Regions from separate parts of the Homo sapiens genome. Here all the other regions are linked to region 6. The links are contacts of gene promoters, found by promoter capture Hi-C in blood cells and fetal thymus (Javierre and others, 2016). All regions are on one chromosome and are shown on one strand. The core of a region is centred on a gene start or on the middle of the fragment in contact, and the rest is flanking DNA. Distances in the headings are between cores, read along the strand shown.

The links. Contacts are between HindIII fragments. The CHiCAGO score rates a contact against its expected background, and 5 or more counts as called.
Region 1: the fragment with the promoter of PCDHGB4 here is called in contact with the fragment with the promoter of PCDHA2 in region 6 in 10 of 17 cell types (M1 macrophages, erythroblasts, M2 macrophages and 7 more); the score reaches 15.8 in M1 macrophages.
Region 2: a fragment that was not itself captured here is called in contact with the fragment with the promoter of PCDHA2 in region 6 in 1 of 17 cell types (erythroblasts); the score reaches 6.5 in erythroblasts.
Region 3: the fragment with the promoter of PCDHGB2 here is called in contact with the fragment with the promoter of PCDHA2 in region 6 in 6 of 17 cell types (M0 macrophages, neutrophils, M1 macrophages and 3 more); the score reaches 10.2 in M0 macrophages.
Region 4: a fragment that was not itself captured here is called in contact with the fragment with the promoter of PCDHA2 in region 6 in 1 of 17 cell types (M1 macrophages); the score reaches 6.8 in M1 macrophages.
Region 5: a contact is called between a fragment that was not itself captured here and the fragment with the promoter of PCDHA2 in region 6, in 4 of 17 cell types (erythroblasts, fetal thymus, M1 macrophages and 1 more). The highest score is 8.4, in erythroblasts.
Region 7: a fragment that was not itself captured here is called in contact with the fragment with the promoter of PCDHA2 in region 6 in 6 of 17 cell types (erythroblasts, M1 macrophages, naive B cells and 3 more); the score reaches 8.5 in erythroblasts.

Annotation. Positions count from the first base shown.
Region 1 is chr5:141,386,316-141,389,015 of GRCh38, forward strand. It overlaps PCDHGB4 (protocadherin gamma subfamily B, 4), which reads left to right and starts at 1,383. Exons shown (of 4, transcript NM_003736.4): 1 at 1,383-2,700. The coding sequence starts at 1,570. All of the region lies in intron 1 of PCDHGA1 (protocadherin gamma subfamily A, 1), which reads left to right. The region is part of intron 1 of PCDHGA2 (protocadherin gamma subfamily A, 2); the gene reads left to right. All of the region lies in intron 1 of PCDHGA3 (protocadherin gamma subfamily A, 3), which reads left to right. It also overlaps PCDHGB1, PCDHGA4, PCDHGB2, PCDHGA5, PCDHGB3 and PCDHGA6, and 2 more genes. The HindIII fragment of the contact is 3,088 bases long and covers 1,095-2,700 here.
Region 2 is chr5:141,445,055-141,447,754 of GRCh38, forward strand. The region is part of intron 1 of PCDHGA1 (protocadherin gamma subfamily A, 1); the gene reads left to right. The region is part of intron 1 of PCDHGA2 (protocadherin gamma subfamily A, 2); the gene reads left to right. All of the region lies in intron 1 of PCDHGA3 (protocadherin gamma subfamily A, 3), which reads left to right. The region is part of intron 1 of PCDHGB1 (protocadherin gamma subfamily B, 1); the gene reads left to right. It also overlaps PCDHGA4, PCDHGB2, PCDHGA5, PCDHGB3, PCDHGA6 and PCDHGA7, and 10 more genes. Among named protein-coding and RNA genes, the nearest start is that of PCDHGA12, 16 kb to the left of the region's middle. The HindIII fragment of the contact is 911 bases long and covers 883-1,793 here.
Region 3 is chr5:141,358,558-141,361,257 of GRCh38, forward strand. It overlaps PCDHGB2 (protocadherin gamma subfamily B, 2), which reads left to right and starts at 1,437. Exons shown (of 4, transcript NM_018923.3): 1 at 1,437-2,700. The coding sequence starts at 1,579. All of the region lies in intron 1 of PCDHGA1 (protocadherin gamma subfamily A, 1), which reads left to right. All of the region lies in intron 1 of PCDHGA2 (protocadherin gamma subfamily A, 2), which reads left to right. All of the region lies in intron 1 of PCDHGA3 (protocadherin gamma subfamily A, 3), which reads left to right. It also overlaps PCDHGB1, PCDHGA4 and PCDHG@. The HindIII fragment of the contact is 22,324 bases long and covers 1-2,700 here.
Region 4 is chr5:141,552,967-141,555,666 of GRCh38, forward strand. The region is part of intron 18 of DIAPH1 (diaphanous related formin 1); the gene reads right to left. Among named protein-coding and RNA genes, the nearest start is that of DIAPH1-AS1, 4.0 kb to the right of the region's middle. The HindIII fragment of the contact is 4,317 bases long and covers 1-2,700 here.
Region 5 is chr5:141,426,589-141,429,288 of GRCh38, forward strand. All of the region lies in intron 1 of PCDHGA1 (protocadherin gamma subfamily A, 1), which reads left to right. The region is part of intron 1 of PCDHGA2 (protocadherin gamma subfamily A, 2); the gene reads left to right. The region is part of intron 1 of PCDHGA3 (protocadherin gamma subfamily A, 3); the gene reads left to right. All of the region lies in intron 1 of PCDHGB1 (protocadherin gamma subfamily B, 1), which reads left to right. It also overlaps PCDHGA4, PCDHGB2, PCDHGA5, PCDHGB3, PCDHGA6 and PCDHGA7, and 10 more genes. Among named protein-coding and RNA genes, the nearest start is that of PCDHGA12, 2.6 kb to the right of the region's middle. The HindIII fragment of the contact is 1,107 bases long and covers 898-2,004 here.
Region 6 is chr5:140,793,542-140,796,241 of GRCh38, forward strand. It overlaps PCDHA2 (protocadherin alpha 2), which reads left to right and starts at 1,311. Exons shown (of 4, transcript NM_018905.3): 1 at 1,311-2,700. The coding sequence starts at 1,424. The region is part of intron 1 of PCDHA1 (protocadherin alpha 1); the gene reads left to right. It also overlaps PCDHA@. The HindIII fragment of the contact is 8,329 bases long and covers 1-2,700 here.
Region 7 is chr5:141,405,261-141,407,960 of GRCh38, forward strand. The region is part of intron 1 of PCDHGA1 (protocadherin gamma subfamily A, 1); the gene reads left to right. All of the region lies in intron 1 of PCDHGA2 (protocadherin gamma subfamily A, 2), which reads left to right. The region is part of intron 1 of PCDHGA3 (protocadherin gamma subfamily A, 3); the gene reads left to right. The region is part of intron 1 of PCDHGB1 (protocadherin gamma subfamily B, 1); the gene reads left to right. It also overlaps PCDHGA4, PCDHGB2, PCDHGA5, PCDHGB3, PCDHGA6 and PCDHGA7, and 5 more genes. Among named protein-coding and RNA genes, the nearest start is that of PCDHGB6, 1.4 kb to the right of the region's middle. The HindIII fragment of the contact is 857 bases long and covers 882-1,738 here.

The DNA.
Region 1 (2,700 bases), core at 133-2,632, 590 kb after region 6:
TGATTGTCATCCAGAAGGGGTGGATGACAAGGTAATCTTGATTCCAGAGACCTTTGAGTATTAATTAAAAACACACTTTTAGCCAGGTATGGTGTTGCAAGCTGTAGCCCACCTGCATGGGAGGCTGAGGCAAGAGGACAGCTTGAACCCAAGAATTGGAGGCCCACCTAGATAATATAACAAGACTCTGTCTCTTCAAAAAAAGACTCTTTTTAGACTAGTGTTGTATTTGGTAGTATTTTGCACATGATAGACTCTGTACAATAGTGTGGGGGATACATTTTTTTTTTTTGACATGGAGTCTCGCTCTGTCACCCAGGCTGGATACATTTTACAAGTTCTGCAGTGTTCACATTTCAGATGTACAATCACTTGGGGTAGAAGACAATGTTGCTGACACCAACAATGTTACTGAGGGAAGATCCTATGGCAGAACTACGGTTATAAGGTATTTTGTAAAAGAAAATCTCCTGACCAAAATTTATTAGATGCATAAAATTGTTTTTAAGCAATGGAGAGACATAATCACTAAACTCAGTGAGCTATTGCAATCAAACTTTCCAGGGATTGTTTCCTTCAATTCAGAGGTCACCAAGGAATGTAAAATAAGTGCAGAGGTAGGAAGCAGTGCTTCAGTGCAGCAGATCTCAGTGACTTTGTGTTTTGAGGCTATGTATTATCCCCCTGATAACTTTGAAGATGAATGTTGTATTTCATAACCAGTAAAATAATTGTGTAATGAGGAGAGGAGTAGGCTACTGCCTGTGATCATCGAAATGAGAATCACATAATATTCCTGTAATGAAATCACTGAAACTATTGGGAAGGGGGTGTATTTGAAGATAAGTATAAATTGCACCTTCTAAAAGGCAATTTTGGTATTACTGATACTCTCCGGAAAAAGTTGAAATAAATCAACTTGGAGGTACTTAGAAAAGTGGAGAAAATGTTAGGAACAATGAAAGAAAGATAAAATGTATCCAGTATATTTCTAATGAGTAAGTATGGAAAATTACTGTACTCTGAGACGGTTTAGGCCAAGTCTGTGTTATGGCTATCTTTATATAGATAGTGCATGTTTGAAGATTGGGGAAAGCTTATGTCAATAAATGTTTATGTACTTAATCTACATGATTTGCCTAAAAATCCTCAAAGTTGGGATGAAGGCATTCCTAAGAGTACATTTTTAGACGTCATTAAATATACAGACGTATCCACGTAGTTTTTGTTCTTTCAGTTAGGCACACAATTATAATTATTGCACTGGTTAACTTGAAGCAGCAGAGGCTGTAGTTTCCTAGTGCTGACTCTGGGCGCCGCTGTTGGCCAAAGTGGAGAGCTTGGCGCTCCAGATCTCCTCGCGCAGCCGCAGCGCGCTTTCCAGGGCAGCCCCAGCTCAGACTCCCCAGCGCCAGCCTTTACACCGCTTCCTCCTCGGAAAAAGAAGAATTTTTTCTTGAACTGGAACTGCAACTAAAGTCCGTTCGGAGATCCAAAAATCTGCAATACAGAGGTTATTTGTAACCCGGCGTCTCCAGGCTGGTGAGCAAGCTGAGGAGAGCAAGAGGGATGGGGAGCGGCGCCGGGGAGCTGGGCCGGGCTGAGAGGCTGCCAGTGCTCTTTCTCTTCCTGCTGTCTTTGTTCTGCCCGGCGCTCTGTGAGCAGATCCGCTACAGGATTCCCGAGGAAATGCCCAAGGGCTCCGTAGTGGGGAACCTCGCCACGGACCTGGGGTTCAGCGTCCAGGAGTTACCGACTCGAAAACTGCGCGTCAGTTCGGAGAAGCCTTACTTCACCGTGAGCGCAGAGAGCGGGGAGTTGCTTGTGAGCAGCAGGCTAGACAGGGAGGAGATATGCGGGAAGAAGCCAGCTTGTGCTCTGGAATTTGAGGCTGTTGCTGAAAATCCACTGAACTTTTATCACGTGAATGTGGAGATCGAGGACATTAATGACCACACGCCAAAATTCACGCAAAATTCCTTTGAGCTGCAAATAAGTGAGTCTGCACAGCCTGGCACACGATTTATATTAGGATCTGCCCATGATGCGGATATTGGTAGCAACACACTGCAGAATTACCAACTCAGTCCCAGTGATCATTTCTCACTGATAAATAAAGAGAAATCAGATGGCAGTAAATACCCTGAGATGGTATTGAAGACACCTTTGGACAGAGAAAAGCAGAAATCCTACCACTTGACTTTGACTGCCTTGGACTTTGGAGCTCCACCCCTAAGCAGCACTGCACAGATACACGTTCTAGTGACTGATGCCAATGATAATGCTCCAGTGTTCAGTCAAGACGTATACAGGGTGAGCCTTTCAGAAAACGTGTACCCGGGGACCACGGTGCTACAGGTGACTGCCACGGACCAGGATGAGGGTGTCAATGCCGAGATTACTTTCTCTTTCAGTGAAGCTAGCCAGATCACCCAATTTGACCTGAACTCTAACACCGGGGAAATTACTGTTTTAAATACATTAGATTTTGAAGAAGTCAAAGAATATTCCATAGTTTTGGAAGCAAGGGACGGTGGAGGAATGATTGCGCAATGCACAGTGGAGGTAGAAGTCATAGATGAAAATGACAACGCCCCAGAAGTGATATTCCAGTCTCTACCCAACCTAATTATGGAGGACGCCGAGCTGGGAACACATATTGCTTTGCTCAAAGTCCGTGACAAGGATTCCAGACACAAT
Region 2 (2,700 bases), core at 88-2,587, 650 kb after region 6:
TCATGTATATTTCTCATTAAATTGTCCCTACATATTTGATGTTTTCTAATGTTATTGTAAATAGTATTTTTAAAATTGTATCTTCTAATTGTTCATTTCTAGTTTACAGAAAAATGAAAAACTATGTTTTTATGTATTCTATATGCTTTTGAAAAGTAAGAGGTGCAAAGTGCTCTATTCTTACACTATATTGTGTGAGAATATAAGTCGAAACCACTCTGCATAAGTTCAGGCTTCCATTCTCTTCAGTTTGTAGGTTGAGAGAACCCATCCAGAAACAGTAAACATTGGTGTCTGCCCAAGTCTGGTCCTGGGTGGTTCATTCATTCATTTACATAACAAATATTTATTAACTGTCTGCTATATGCAAGGCACTGACCTATGGACTAAGGATGCAGCAATGAACAAGGCATATATGATTCCTGAGTTAATGGGCCCTATTCTAATACATGATATTTTACAGGTCTGATAAAAGCCAACAAGGAGAAATACAAAAGCACTAAGAGAAAGCTTATAGTAGGGAAGCTTCGCCTAATCTGAAGGTCAAGGAAGGCTTTCTTTTTTTCGGAAAGTGATATTTAGAGAGATGAATAGATTAATAGGATGAGTAGAAGTTATCTAGGTAACAAGGAAAGTAAAAAAGAAATTGTCAGGCAGAGGAAATAGCATGTGTAAAGATCTTTTTAAAAAATAAAAGGTGTGACTCAAGCAATTTAAAAGGGCTAGGGAGGCTAGAAACAGAAAATAAATAGATGAAACTAATAAGGCAGGGAGAGCCTTGTAAATCACACTTAAAATTCTGGATTTTGTTCTAAATACCCTTGTACTTAGGAGCTATTAAAATATTTTAAACAAGGCAGTGACAAGATATTTGAATTATTAAGCTTACTCTGGCTGCTATATGGAGAATTGATTTATGAGGGTTATAAATAGAAATAGGAAGATAAGATAGGAGACTATGGCAATATTCCTGGTAAGAAATGGAAGAAGAGCTGGCTTGGATTAAAGGGGAGGCAGTGGATGTAGAAATAAATGGATGAATTATAGATATATTTAGGAAATGGGTTCAATAAGACTTAATAATGGAATAGGTGGAATATAAATTTCATGAGGGCAGGGGGTGTTTTGTTTATTATTATATTCCTAGGTGTCTGAAAATATTGTTGTGTTGCCTGGCAAGTGGTAGATCTTCAGTGAAATATTATTAACTGAATAAATACAATGGATAAATGGGGAGCAGGGATTAAGAGTGATTCCTGGGTTTCCACATTAAGGAACTGGATGGACAAAGCTACCATTTGATGAGAATGGAAGACTAAAGAATGATAGATTTAAGAGAAATCGAGTTGAGTTCCAGCCATGTTCATTTGAAGGATCTGAGAAACAGTGCAGATATTCAGTGTGTGATTAGACATATGGTCATCATTCTTTTTTTTTTTTGAGATGGAGTCTCGCTCTGTCACCCAGGCTGGAGTGCAGTGGCCCTATCTCTGCTCACTGCAATCTCTGCCTCCCAGGTTCAAGTGATTCTTCTGCCTCAGCCTCCTGAGTAGCTGGGACTACAGGCGTGCACCACCACGCCTGGCTAATTTTTGTATTTTTAGTACAAGACAGCATTTCACCATATTGGCCAGGCTGGTCTCGAACTCTGATCTGCCCGCCTCGGCCTCCCAAAGTGTGGGGATTACAGGCGTGAGCCACCGCGCCCAGCCGGTTACCATTCTTTTACTCTGAGTTCTTCCATTGTGATCATCTAGTCAGATGGGTAGATCCTTATAAGGCTGAGCATAATAAGCTTCCTGATAGCTCTACACTGGTATGTTTTGGGGTTCATGGCTGAGCTACTTTTGTGTTTTATTTATCTTCCTGATCTCTTTTTCACTGTAAGAAACATCCAGCACCCAGGGAAATTTGCTGTCTAATTCATACTCCACTCTTCAGACTAGTCCTAGTGTTCAGTTTTGTTTTGTTTTTTTTCTGTGTCTGGAATTCTATTAAAATGTGTCAGGCTGTTTTAATTTTTGTTGTTTAATTTTCTTTCACATGATTATATGTGCTCCATGGATTTTTTTGTTTGTTTGTTTTTTGTTTTTGTTTTTGTTTAAGCGGGGTCTTGCTCTTGTCGCGCAGGCTGGAGTGCAATGGCTTGATCTCGGCTCACTGCAACCTCCGCCTCCCGGGTTCAAGTGATTCTTCTGTCTCAGCCTCCCAAGTAGCTGGGACTACAGGCACATGCCACCACACCCGGCTAATTTTTGTATTTTTAGTAGAGACGGGTTTCATCATATTGGTCAGGCTGGTCTCAAACTCCTGACCCTGGTGATCTGCCCACCTCGGCCTCCCAAAGTGCTGGGATTACAGGCGTGAGCCACCGCACCCGGAGGAAATTTTTAACCTCAGTTTTTCTTCACCATCTGTAAAACTGCATAGAAGGAATGTTTAGGATAAAAGATGCATAACAATCATAACAAAATTGTTGGGTTTTAATGTTATGAGTACACTTGGAGGATTCTATGTCCACACATACCTTAAACATCCTATAGAGTCCTTAGCATTTTAAAGTTGAAACCAACAGTATGAATGATGGTAGAATTTTCCCCCCCAGGAAGTTAGAACTGTTCCATATCTTGATAGAGGGATGGGTTATAAGGATGTACACATTTTCCAAAACTCATTGAACTTAAGAGTCTTGCATGTGAC
Region 3 (2,700 bases), core at 187-2,686, 570 kb after region 6:
ACCAGAAGTGACTATGTGTGATTCCTCTGGTGCACTCCTGTGATTATGAGAAATATTTCCAAGCTAATTTCAGTCATATATAAGTAGATTCTAGGAGTAACTTTAATAATTTTTAAATTGCTTATCATGACATCACTATTGAGACTTTCTTGATTTCCAAGGAAAATATAAGTTTTTGGAGTCTTTTCTCTTGTCATCATGTGAGCCTCTTTCAAAGGTTGAGTTACTTGGGTTCTGGACTGATATGATTTACGCTGCTTAGTAAGGTGGCCTCATCCCTATTGCTACAAATTGCTTTCAGATATTTCTGTCATCATGTGGCTCTGGGATTATTTTATATGAGGGAAAATATTTTGTGTGTAGGGGATATACAACACTTTTGTTCTTTGTGCTTTCATTTAGGTTCTGTGAGAATTCAAAATTCATGAATGCATATGCTTACACAAATTAGTGTAATTTGATAACTGGAAGTTGTAGTGATAGACTGTGGAATATGCCTCAATTTGACTTACAAAGGAGAGTTTTAGTTTCTACATGGTTTTGTATTCATAGAAAGTTGTGGTGCAATACATAGAGTAAGCTGGAATATGATATGATGCAGTTACCTGGCTTGGGGAGCAGAAAGCAGAAATAACAAGTGAATGTTGAGAGACAACTTACATCTGAGGAGAGATTGTTTAAAGTAATTAAGCCATAAAATATAATTTGGAAATGCTCAATTGGTCTGAAACTGTGTCAAGCATATTCAGGTGTTGGCATTAGGAATATATTCCAGAATGAGAGTGCCACATGTTTTAAAGGCCTAGGAAAGCAGTAGATAATTTATAACCTAAAATCAAATTTTTTAAAAAATGTGTTTTTGTTAGAATGGGCAGTGGGTTTCTTTTAGCAAATAACAATTTTGATTAAACAAATTGTTGTATATTCATATTACGGACTACTAGATAACTATATTATGGGCCACTAGATAACTATAAGAAATAAATAGGAAAGCTCTCTATGTACTGATATGATCTTTAAGATATAACAACTAAAAAAGCAATGTGCAGAATATGGTATGTTGTATGCTTACATTTGTGTAAAGAAGGAGACAGAATATTTATAAAAATCCGTTGCCCTATACAAGACATATCTCCGGAAGGATACCTAAGAAACTTTAACACTCATTTCCCCTGTGAAAGCATTTCTCCTCATCTAAAGCAGAGATGAAAGGAAGAACCTATGCTGAATGCATCTTTTGAATTTGGAACTATATGAATATTTCACATATTTTAAAACAAATGAAGACTTTATAAATTAAAAAAGAAAAGAAAAGAAAAAAGTTCTTAGCAAATATTGACAAGCCATTAGTGCAGTTTCCTGAGAAAACCTCTGAGCGTCGCTGTTGGTCAAAAGAACGAAGAGAAGCGTTTGGGAGCCTCTTAGAGGGGAACTTCCTGCACAAACCAACCACACAGAGAAGGCCAGTATAGATTCGGAAACAGAAAACAAAAGCAGGAAAAGTGACCTTAGCCCGGATTCTGCCATCCCCGGAAGGCTTATTCCTCCTATGGGCAAAGGAGCAAAGGGAGCCAGAAGATGAAAGCGAGCTCAGGGAGGTGCGGGCTGGTGCGGTGGCTGCAGGTACTGTTGCCCTTCCTGTTGTCTTTGTTCCCCGGGGCTCTCCCAGTCCAGATCCGCTATTCAATTCCAGAGGAGCTGGCCAAAAACTCGGTCGTAGGAAACCTCGCCAAGGATCTGGGGCTCAGCGTCCGGGACTTGCCAGCCCGGAAGCTGCGGGTTAGCGCGGAGAAGGAATATTTCACAGTAAACCCAGAAAGCGGAGACTTACTTGTGAGTGACAGAATAGACCGAGAACAGATATGCGGGAAGCAGCCTCTGTGTGTTCTGGATTTCGATACTGTCGCTGAAAATCCACTAAATATTTTCTACATAGCAGTAATTGTGCAGGATATAAATGATAATACCCCGCTATTCAAACAGACTAAGATTAATTTAAAAATTGGCGAATCCACTAAGCCAGGTACAACATTTCCACTTGACCCAGCCCTGGATTCAGATGTTGGTCCTAACTCACTACAAAGATACCACCTTAATGACAACGAGTACTTTGATCTCGCTGAGAAACAGACTCCAGATGGTCGTAAATATCCTGAGTTGATTCTAAAACACTCTCTGGACAGAGAAGAGCACAGTTTACATCAATTGGTCCTCACAGCTGTGGATGGCGGAGACCCACCTCAAAGTGGCACGACCCAAATCCGAATCAAAGTCACGGATGCCAACGATAACCCTCCAGTGTTCAGCCAGGACGTGTACAGGGTCACCCTGAGGGAGGACGTGCCGCCGGGCTTCTTTGTGCTTCAAGTGACAGCCACCGACCGGGATGAAGGCATAAACGCAGAGATCACCTACTCCTTTCATAATGTGGACGAACAAGTGAAACACTTTTTCAACTTAAATGAAAAAACAGGAGAAATCACGACAAAGGATGATTTGGATTTTGAGATTGCAAGTAGTTACACTCTGAGTATCGAAGCAAAAGATCCTGGAGATCTAGCAGCCCACTGCAGTATCCAAGTTGAAATTCTTGATGACAACGATTGTGCACCTGAAGTTATTGTGACTTCAGTATCTACTCCCCTACCGGAGGATTCGCCACCAGGAACAGTGATCGCCTTGATAAAAACGAGAGACAGA
Region 4 (2,700 bases), core at 22-2,521, 760 kb after region 6:
AGCAAACGAATACACTTCCTATCAAGACTTAAGGGATGTGAGCCAGGCATGGTGGCTCACACCTGTAATCCCAGCACTTTGGGAGGCTGACGCGGGCCTATCACTTAAGGTTAGGAGTTCAAGACCAGCCTAGCCAACACGGTGAAAAAACCCTGTCTCTACTAAAGATACAAAAATTAGCTGGGTGTCATGGCACACGCCTGTAACCCCAGCTACCTGGGAAGCTGAGGCAGAAGAATTGCTTGAACCCAGGAGGTGGAGGTTGCAGTGAGCCAAGATCGCACCACTGCACTCCAGCCTGGGTGACAGGCTGTCTTTTTTTTTTGACCCTGTCTCAAAAAAACAACTTAAGAGATGTGTCCCAAACAATAATTTAAACAAAAACAGTCTCGGCCGGGCATGGTGGCTCACGCCTGTAATCCCAGCACTTTGGGAGGTCAAGGCAGGTGGATCACCTGAGGTCAGGAGTTCGAGACCGGCCTGCCCAACATGGCGAAACCCCAACTCTACTAAAAATACAAAAAATTAGCCAGGCGTGGTGGTGGGCGCCTATGTAATTCCAGCTACTCAGGAGGCTGAGGCAGGAGAATCGCTTGTACCCAGGAGGCAGAGGTTGCGGTGAGCCAAGATCACACCACTGCACTCCAGCCTGGGCAACAAGAGCAAAACTCTATCTCAAAAAAACCCCCCAAGAAAACATCGTCTCAAATGCATATATGACAGGGAAAAAAGACTAAAAACTAAAGAGGTAAGTACCTATTTAAAAAAATTAGAATAAGAATAATAAAATAAACCAAAAGAAAAATTTAAAGATAGAGACAAGAACAGAAATTAGTGAAATCTGTAGCAGAGGGGATTCACGAAGCCAACAGTTTTGGCTTAAAACATTTTTTTTAAGACCAGTTAAATTCAGTATTTTAAAACAAGAAAGAAAAACAGAGAAATCAGGCATAAGTAACTAACATCAGGAACAAAATACAGGACTGAACTAAATATGGCTCAGGCTCAAGCATTAAGAGGAATAATATCAGGCAGGGCGCGGTGGCTCATGCCTGTAATCCCAGTACTTTGGGAGGCTGAGGCGGGCAGATCACCTGAAGCCAAGAGTTTGAGATCAGCCTCACCAACATGGTGAAACCCCATCTCTACCAAAATACAAAATTAGCCAGGCATGGTAGTGCATGCTTGTAATCCCAGCTACTCGGGAGGCTGAGGCAGGAGAATCGCTTGAACCTGAGAGGCAGAGGTTGCAGTGAGCCGAGATTGTGCCACCGCACTCCAGCCTGGGCAACAAGAGCAAAACTCCATCCCCACCCGCTCCCCCCAAAAAAAGGAATAATATCATACAAAATATGTCTGCAAATTTAGATAAAATTGATAAATTTCTAGAAAAACATAACACATCAAAACTTATCCAATAAGAAAAAACCAGTCCTATAACCATAAAAGAACTAAATCGGTGATCAAAAATTTCTTCAGAGACCCAGATGACTTTACCAGCTATTATTTCAAACACTCAAGGAATAAATAATTCCACCAATTTTACGCAAAAAATTTTTCCACAGAATAGAAGTATATTTTCTCAACTCATGTTGTGAGGCTAGCATAACTTCACTATCAAAATGTGAAAGAACAGTATCAAAAAAATCATAGGTACTTTCACTCATAAACACAGGCACAAAATTCCTAATAGCAAAGTGAATTAAGGGGTATAAAATAAAAATAATAACAGATCACATTCAAGTTAGATTTGTTTTAGGAATGCAAAATCGGTGTAACAGAAATCAGTTAATATGCTTCCCACAATTACAGATTAAAGTAGAAAATTATATGATCATCTCAACAATACAAAAAAAAACCTGACCAAATTTAATATCCATTCAGAATAAATAGTCTTAGCATATTAGAAATCGAAGAAACTTCTTTGACAATGTGTATATATACCAAAAGCTACAGGCAAAACCCTTCAGGATGGTGGGTACTCTGAGTTGGGGGTGGAGGTTCAGTTGTAACTGGAAGGGGGGTACATAACAAAGGGCATCTTGGTCTCAGACCCTGATTACATGAATGTAAATTTCCTTTTAAATTTTTTGAAATTTAATGCTGCATAATGAGTTGTACACTTCGACCTGAAATAAAGAAGAACTAAGATACACACACACGTCCCCCTCTGATTACAACCATGTAAATGCTATATATACAGCACAGGCAAAGACTACAAGTGAATATGAACAAATTAAAACAGTTTGATTTGTTAACATAGTGTGATAATGTAACTATGTGTAAATTTTAAAAACTGTCACCAAACAGGAAACTGTGAGAAAGGTAAGACAGATATGGCTCTGGGCACCACCTATTTTATTTTCATATCCTTAGACAGGTAGGCCTGGTTCAACTTTGACGGTGGGTTAGGAAGAACTCCCACTGACAACCAGCAGTAAAGACAGGCAGTCAAATGTAGAACCCATAGAATGCTCCCATTTGCTGCCTTCCCAGCCTTCTTACAGGAATGGTGCACTAATTAATCATCCAGATACTAAAGCACCTAATATACAACCTTATCAATGCTTGGGTTCCAGCCCCCATTTTCATAAGAGCAAAGATGAGAAGTCCAGAACAAAGGCCTCATGCTGTCCCTCACCCTAAAAACAACATCAAGGGCTGAGTAATTTCAGTTTACAGAATTGTGTGAAATAAGGG
Region 5 (2,700 bases), core at 201-2,700, 630 kb after region 6:
TCATACCCTTAGAGATTGTAGCAGAGAATCCTCTAAATGTTTTTCACATAAATGTGATGATAGAAGATATAAATGATAACCCACCTCATTTTCCCCAAAATAGCATTGTTTTACAAATCAATGAACTAGCAATTCCAGGCATTCGGTTTGGCCTGGAATCTGCTATAGATGCAGATGTAGGGCCTCACTCTCTCCAGAGTTACCAGCTCAGTTCTAATGAACATTTCTCTCTGATGATGGACAAGACTAAAGGCAAGAACGCTCCAGAATTAGTGCTGGAGAAGCCCCTGGGCCAGGAGCAACAGAGCTCTCATCTCCTGGTCCTGGAAGCAATGGACATGGGTGACCCAGTCCCAACTGGCACTGCTGCAATTCAAATTGAGGTCACTGATGCCAACGATAATGCCCCAGTTTTTAGCCAGGATGTATACAAAGTCAGCCTTAGAGAGAATGTGCCCCCAGGCACCTCTGTACTAAAGGTGACAGCCACTGACCAGGATGAGGGTGTCAATGCGGAGATCACCTACTCTTTCAAATCCCTACGAGATGATATTGGAAATATGTTTGTGCTAGACCATCAAAATGGGGAAATTAAATCCAAAGACTTAATAGACTTCGAATTTCGTAGCAGTTATACCATGAGAGTAGAAGCTAAGGATGGTGGAGGCATGACCAGCGAATGTAAAATTATACTAGAAATCCTAGATGAGAATGACAATGCCCCAGACGTGGTTTTTACTTCAGTGTCCAGTTCTGTAACTGAGGACGCAGAACCCTGGACGGTGATCACTCTGTTCAAAACACATGATAAAGATTCGAGAGAAAATGGGGAGGTTACATGCCTCATAAACGAAAGAGTTCCTTTTAGAATCGAATCTTCCGCCAATAATGACTATAAGCTTGTAACAGATGGGACCCTGGATTGGGAGCGGATCCCGGAGTACAACGTCACCATCACTGCCACTGACAAGGGCAAGCCTCCGCTCTCATCCAGCACAAGCCTCACCCTACGCATTGGTGAAGTCAACGACAATGCTCCGGTTTTCCACCAAGTCTCCTACGTGGTCCACGTGGCCGAAAACAACCTTCCCGGAGCCTCCATCCCACAAGTCAGCGCCTCTGACCTGGACCTAGGGCTGAATGGCCAAGTCTCCTACTCCATCGTTACCACTGACTTGGAGCTGCGGGCACTGTCGTCCTACGTGTCCGTGAGCGCACAGAGCGGGGTGGTGGTCGCGCAGCGTGCCTTCGACCACGAGCAGCTGTGCGCCTTCGAGCTCACGATGCAGGCCCACGACCAGGGCTCGCCCGCGCTCAGCGCCAACATGAGCCGGCGCATGTTGGTGGGCGACCTCAATGACAATGTGCCGCGGGTGCTGTACCCCGCGCTGGGGCCCGATGGCTCCGCACTCTTCGATATAGTGCCACGCGCCGCAGAGTCCGGCTACCTGGTGACCAAGGTGGTGGCGGTGGACGCAGATTCGGGACACAACGCTTGGCTGTCCTACCACGTGCTGCAGGCCATCGAGCCCGGGCTTTTCAGCCTGGGGCTGCACACGGGAACCTGCTGGTTGCTGTGCGTGACGGAGGACAGCCGCCGCTCTCTGCGCCGCTACGCTTCACCTAGTCTTCGCAGACAGCCTGCAGGAGGCACTGCCAGACTTCAGTGACAGTCCTGTGCCCTCTGATTCCCAAGCAAAGCTGCAGATTTACCTGGTCGTGGCCTTGGCCTTGATTTCTATGCTCTTCTTCCTCGCAGTGATTTTGGCGGTCGCCTTGCACCTGCGATGCTCTTCCAGCCCCTCTGCCTGGGGTTGCTTTCACCCTGGTCTCTGTTCTAAGACTAGACCAGGGGTTTTTCCCAACTACAATGAGGGAACTTTGCTTTATTCCTGCAATCTGTATGTTCCCTCGGATTCTAGAAAAAGAAGATTTAATTTTCTCACCATGACACCAGAAACAGTCCCCCCACAAGATCTTTCTAATGAAGTTTCTCTGGTAGCAAGCTTCACTGAAGAGAATAACAAGATAAGCTCTAACTCTGTTGCTCCTACTCACGTGAGTTCCAATGAATGTCTTTCATTTACAAATGGATGAGGTTTAATTTTCAAACCAATATTTTGGCAAGAAAATCTTAAACATATTATATCTACTATTGCTTCAGGTTTGTTTGCCCACTCTTAATATTTCCTGTTCCTTTCTGTGTGGGCCAGTAACTTCATTATTAGCTTTCATGTATTTTTGAAACATTTTCACCATTTTTACGGGAGACTTTTTTTTTTTTTGGACGGAGTCTCGCTCTGTGGTCCAGGCTGGAGTGCAGTGGCATGATCTCGGCTCACTGCAAGCTCTGCCTTCCGGGTTCTGGCCATTCTCCCGCCTCAGCCTCCCGGGTAGCTGGGACTACAGGCGCCCGCCACCACGCCCGGCTAATTTTTTGCATTTTTAGTACAGACGGGGTTTCACCGTGTTAGCCAGGATGGTCTCGATTTCCTGACCTCGTGATCTGCCCGCCTCGGCCTCCCAAAGTGCTGGGATTATAGGCGTGAGCCACTGCACCCGGCCCGGAGACATTGTTTATACACACACACACACACACACACACACACACACACACGTGTGAAAAGTGGGTATTATGATACTGCTGTCATTGAGATATTTTAATTGAGGAATAAATTTTTTTCCTGTGATGTTTCTTGG
Region 6 (2,700 bases), core at 61-2,560:
ATTTTGCAATTAATTTTACTTCTCTCTTTGCTCTAGGAAGCTGAAAACAAAATTGGTGACATGGTTAGAGTAACTGAAGGTGACCCTTTATTATGGATTTTGTATGCTATCCCACTCCTTGATTCATTTTATTTCATCCTCATCTTATCTTTATTCTATTTTCATTTTTTTACTGTGAAGGGATCAGCTAAAAATTAACAAAAGAAGATATTCTCAAGTAATTAACACAAAAAAAGAGATCGATTGTATTGTTCTTGCATAAAAGTCTAAATGTAATGGAAAAGGAATATTCTAAAGTAATAGTACATTATCCAAATGAGAAACAAATAAATTATTAATTTCAAAACATTTGCAAACAATTCAAAAATCAAAATTAAATCACAAAACAACAGTATATATACACATATATTTTCAATGGACTAAAATACCTTTGATTACTATGTTCTTCATTTGAAGAAATAGTGAAAAATGCTAATATATCCAAAAGAATTGAAAGCAGGGTCTCAAAGAAATATATGCACACCCATGTTCATGGCAGCACTGTTCACAACAGTCAAGAAATGGAAGCAACTCAAATGTCCACGAATACTTGAATGAATAAACAAAACGTGGTGTATACATATGTTGGACTATTATTCAGCCTTAAAAAGGAAAGAAGTCCTGTCACATGTTACAATATGGATGAACCTTGAGGAACCATCCACGGATGCTTGAATGAATAAACAAAACGTGGTGTATACATACGATGGACTAGTATTCAGCCTTAAAAAGGAAATAAATCTTGTCACATGCTACAACATGGATGAACCTTGAGGACATTGTGCTAAGTGAAATAGGCCAGTCACAAAAAGACAAATACTTTACGAGTCCACTTACACGAAATATCTAAAGTAGTGAAATTCATAGAAATAGAAAATAGGACTGTGGTTACCAGAGACTGGAGTGACGGTGAAAAGCGGAGTTGTTGTCTAATGGGTATAGAGTTTCTGTTTTCCAAGATGAAAAATTTGTAACAATGTGAATATACTTAACATTACTGAAATGTACATTTAATCATAGTTAATATGGTAATTTTAAATATTATGTTGTGTGTTTTTTAACCAGAGTAAAAAAGGGTAAAAAGGTAATATATTTTAGGGCTTAAAATAGTTATTTTTTTCCAAGATGAAAGCTATGAGTAAACTTAAACCAGAAAATCGACTAGTTTTAAATCTACAGAATAAACAGTAGAGCCTTCCTTTTAGCCACATGATGTCGCTGTCCACCATAGAGTGTTCTCTAGGAAGGAAAATACCCAGAGCCCCTTTGTTACTTCAGAGAAGCGGAGGAATAAGAGAAGCAGCAGGACTTTAACAGAGACTAGAATATTTAAATTTTTGCAAAACATGCTCTTCTAATTTGATCAAAACATTGAGGATTGGTAATGGCGTCTTCTATCAGAAGGGGCCGAGGGGCCTGGACACGGCTGCTCTCGCTTCTGCTCCTCGCAGCCTGGGAGGTGGGGAGCGGCCAGCTCCGCTACTCCGTCCCCGAGGAGGCCAAACACGGCACCTTCGTGGGCCGCATCGCGCAGGACCTGGGGCTGGAGCTGGAGGAGCTGGTGCCGCGCCTGTTCCGGGTGGCGTCCAAAAGACACGGGGACCTTCTGGAGGTAAATCTGCAGAATGGCATTTTGTTTGTGAATTCTCGGATCGACCGGGAGGAGCTGTGCGGGCGGAGCGCGGAATGTAGCATCCACGTGGAGGTGATCGTGGACAGGCCGCTGCAGGTTTTCCATGTGGAAGTGGAGGTGAAGGACATTAACGACAACCCGCCAATATTTCCAATGACAGTAAAGACTATCCGGTTTCCCGAATCAAGGCTGCTTGATTCTCGGTTTCCTCTAGAGGGAGCATCTGATGCAGATATAGGAGTAAATGCTCTTCTCTCCTACAAGCTCAGCTCCAGTGAGTTTTTCTTCCTAGATATACAGGCAAATGATGAACTAAGCGAATCTTTGTCTCTCGTGCTGGGGAAATCGCTGGACAGAGAGGAAACTGCTGAGGTTAATTTGTTACTGGTGGCTACTGATGGGGGCAAACCTGAGCTCACGGGCACCGTTCAAATACTTATTAAGGTATTAGATGTAAATGACAATGAACCAACTTTTGCCCAATCAGTTTACAAAGTAAAATTGTTAGAGAATACGGCAAATGGGACCTTAGTGGTTAAGTTAAACGCTTCTGATGCAGATGAAGGACCGAACAGCGAGATTGTGTATTCACTCGGTAGTGATGTGTCCTCCACTATACAGACTAAGTTTACCATAGATCCCATCTCAGGGGAAATCAGAACTAAGGGAAAATTAGATTATGAAGAAGCAAAGTCCTACGAGATTCAGGTCACTGCAACTGACAAAGGAACCCCTTCAATGTCAGGACATTGTAAAATTTCATTAAAACTTGTGGACATCAATGATAACACACCAGAAGTCTCAATAACGTCTCTCTCACTTCCCATCTCAGAGAACGCTTCCCTGGGCACTGTCATTGCTCTCATCACGGTGTCGGATCGCGACTCTGGTACGAATGGACATGTCACCTGCTCCCTGACGCCCCACGTCCCTTTCAAGCTGGTGTCCACCTTCAAGAATTACTACTCGTTGGTGCTGGACAGCGCCCTGGACCGCGAGAGCGTGTCAGCCTATGAGCTGGTGGTGAC
Region 7 (2,700 bases), core at 60-2,559, 610 kb after region 6:
TCCCCCAGCCCAACTATGCAGACACACTCATCAGCCAGCAGAGCTGTGAGAAAAATGAGCCTTTGTGCGTCTCTGTTGATTCCAAGTTTCCTATAGAAGACACCCCTTTGGTTCCGGTGAGTTCATTTTTTTTCTTTCTTTCTTTTCTTTTTTTGTTTTTTGTTTTGTTTTGTTTTTGAGACAGAGTCTTACTCTGTTACCCAGGCTGGAATGCAGTGGTGTGATCTCGGCTCATTGCAACCTCCGCCTCCCAAATTCAAGCGATTCTCCTGCCTCAGCCTCCCAAGTAGAGTAGCTGGGACTAGAGTAGAGTAGCTGGGACTACAGGCCTCCCAAGTAGAATAACTGGGACTACAGGCACGTGCCACCACGCCCGGCTAATTTTTTGTGTGTTTTTAGTAGAGACGGGGTGTCACCATGTTGGCCAGGCTGGTCTTGAATTCCTAACCTCAAGTGATCCACCCACCTCAGCCTCCCAAAGCACTGGGATTACAGGCGTGAGCCACTGCGCCTGGCCCTTAACTTTCTATTATAGTTAGCTTTCTCTTTAACTGTCTGTACTTAAGGTAGTATAAGTTGATATCAGTGTGTTTCTCATCACTTTTCACTGGGCCTAATTGTTGCTCCAACACTGAAAGGAGGCATTTATTAGTTATATTTGCTGATATAACTTTCATGTTCTCATAATAATTAACCTGCTGTCAACGTAAACCATACTTCATGGGGTAGCTCTCAGCCTGCATTGATGTGGGCTTTTTGGGTAGGGTTGCTTCATTGGTTGCAGTGGACTCATATCATAAAATTCTTACTCCTTTTTTTTTTTTTTTAAGAGATGGGGGTGTCATTCTGTTGTCCAGGGTGGAATGCAGTGGTGTGGGTAAAGCTTACTGCAGTCTCAATCTCCTGGGCTTATGCAATCCTCCCACCTCAGCCTTCACAGTAGCTAGGACTGAGGTGGGAGGGCTAGCAAGCTATGTTGCCCAGACTGGTCTCAAACGATCTTCCTGCTTCAGTTTCCCAAAGCACTGGGTGAGGTGTGAACCACCTCACCCAGCAAATTCTTACTCCTACGATCATTTATTCAGGTCATACTATGTTTGTAAGGGTAAACTGATAAAAAGGTAAATGTATTCTTCTTAGAGAAACAGCTGAAAGCCCAGATTTATTGCTTCTATTCTTCCATTTCTATGACAGGAAAACACCTCTTTGAGGTTATATTTTTCAGATCACAAGTGTGTAAAGTCTGTTTGTGTTTACAGATATTTTCTGACGAAGATTCAAACTTCAGTTATCCACTTCCAAACCCTAGTAAACCAATTTTTTCCCTTTAATGGTGAAAGTTGTCACATCTTTTATTCTCATATCTTCAAAGGTCTTAATTTCCTAATGCTTTAATGTTAAATTATGGAGAATAGTAGGACATTCTTCTTTTCTATAGTATATGCTTGCTCAAGAGAAGTTTCTAAGACTGGACACTGTGAAATGACAAAACAAGGAATTAAAAATATTTCTCTCACTTATATATTATTTCTGGCTCAATTCTCCAACTTTTGAGTCTAGAAATGAACTTGCATATCAGATATAATTTAAGAAAATATTCTCAGGAACTGCTGGGAAGATTCTAAAACTATTTTACTGTTTTTAGCTATAAGGAAGAGAATAATGTATTATTTAATGTTATTTTAAACATAGTGTTGTTTCAAATAGTAAATAACATTTCACAAGACATTTGAAAATAAGCTTTGAAGTTGACTCAAAATTCTATGCTAAACATGTGATCCATAGATACACTGATGACTGCTGGCATTTCTGTGGAAATGAAGAATTGTTTTATTTGTTTGTAATTATTTGGGTTTCAGTTGCTTTATTTTTAAGAAAAAAAAGCTGAAGTGTCTGGGAATCCTTTATGACATACAGACATTTTAATTATTTCAAACACGTTTTCCCCCTTAAGTGGGTAGCAAAAAAAATAAAGCATACTTCAGGCTCATATTTTTAACCATGCAACAAGAAAATTGTTACAATTTCTGTTCTGAGGAGTAGCCTTCATACTTAGTATTTATAAATATTGAAATGTATGTTAATTTGGGGAAAACATAACAGATATCCATGAAGGCTTGTATGTCATGGTAGGTAGTTACTATTCGATACCACAAAAATGTCTCTTGCCCTTAAAACCAGAACACGAGGCTCACCAGACAGATGACTGAATGGAGTATGGAAAATCTTTATTTCTGTTTTTCTTAGGCTATGTAGGACTTAACTTATTGTGCATTGGTAACAGATTGTAGAACATAAGCTGAAAGATAAAATTCTTGACCTTAATGTCTCATCTTAAAAAGAAGCATTGGTTGACATTCTATATCTCGTATTACTTAAAAATAATGGGGGAGCGCAGTATATATTAAACAAAGATTGGCTTTGTGGTGATCATTGTTGAAGGTGGGGTGATGGCTATGTGAAGGTTCACTATATATACTCCCTACTGTTGTATAAGTTTGAAATTGTGCATAATAGATTTATTTAAAACACAAAGCATAGAAATATCTACTATAATATTATGGTGAGAGCAAAATTTGAGGGGGATGTACACCTGCATTTTCGAAGAATATATACATTTCGGAGACCGAATTCAAAATGAAAAACCGGGCTGCTGTCCCGCACGGAGCCTCTGGGCGCCGCTGTCGGCCAGTGCAGAGC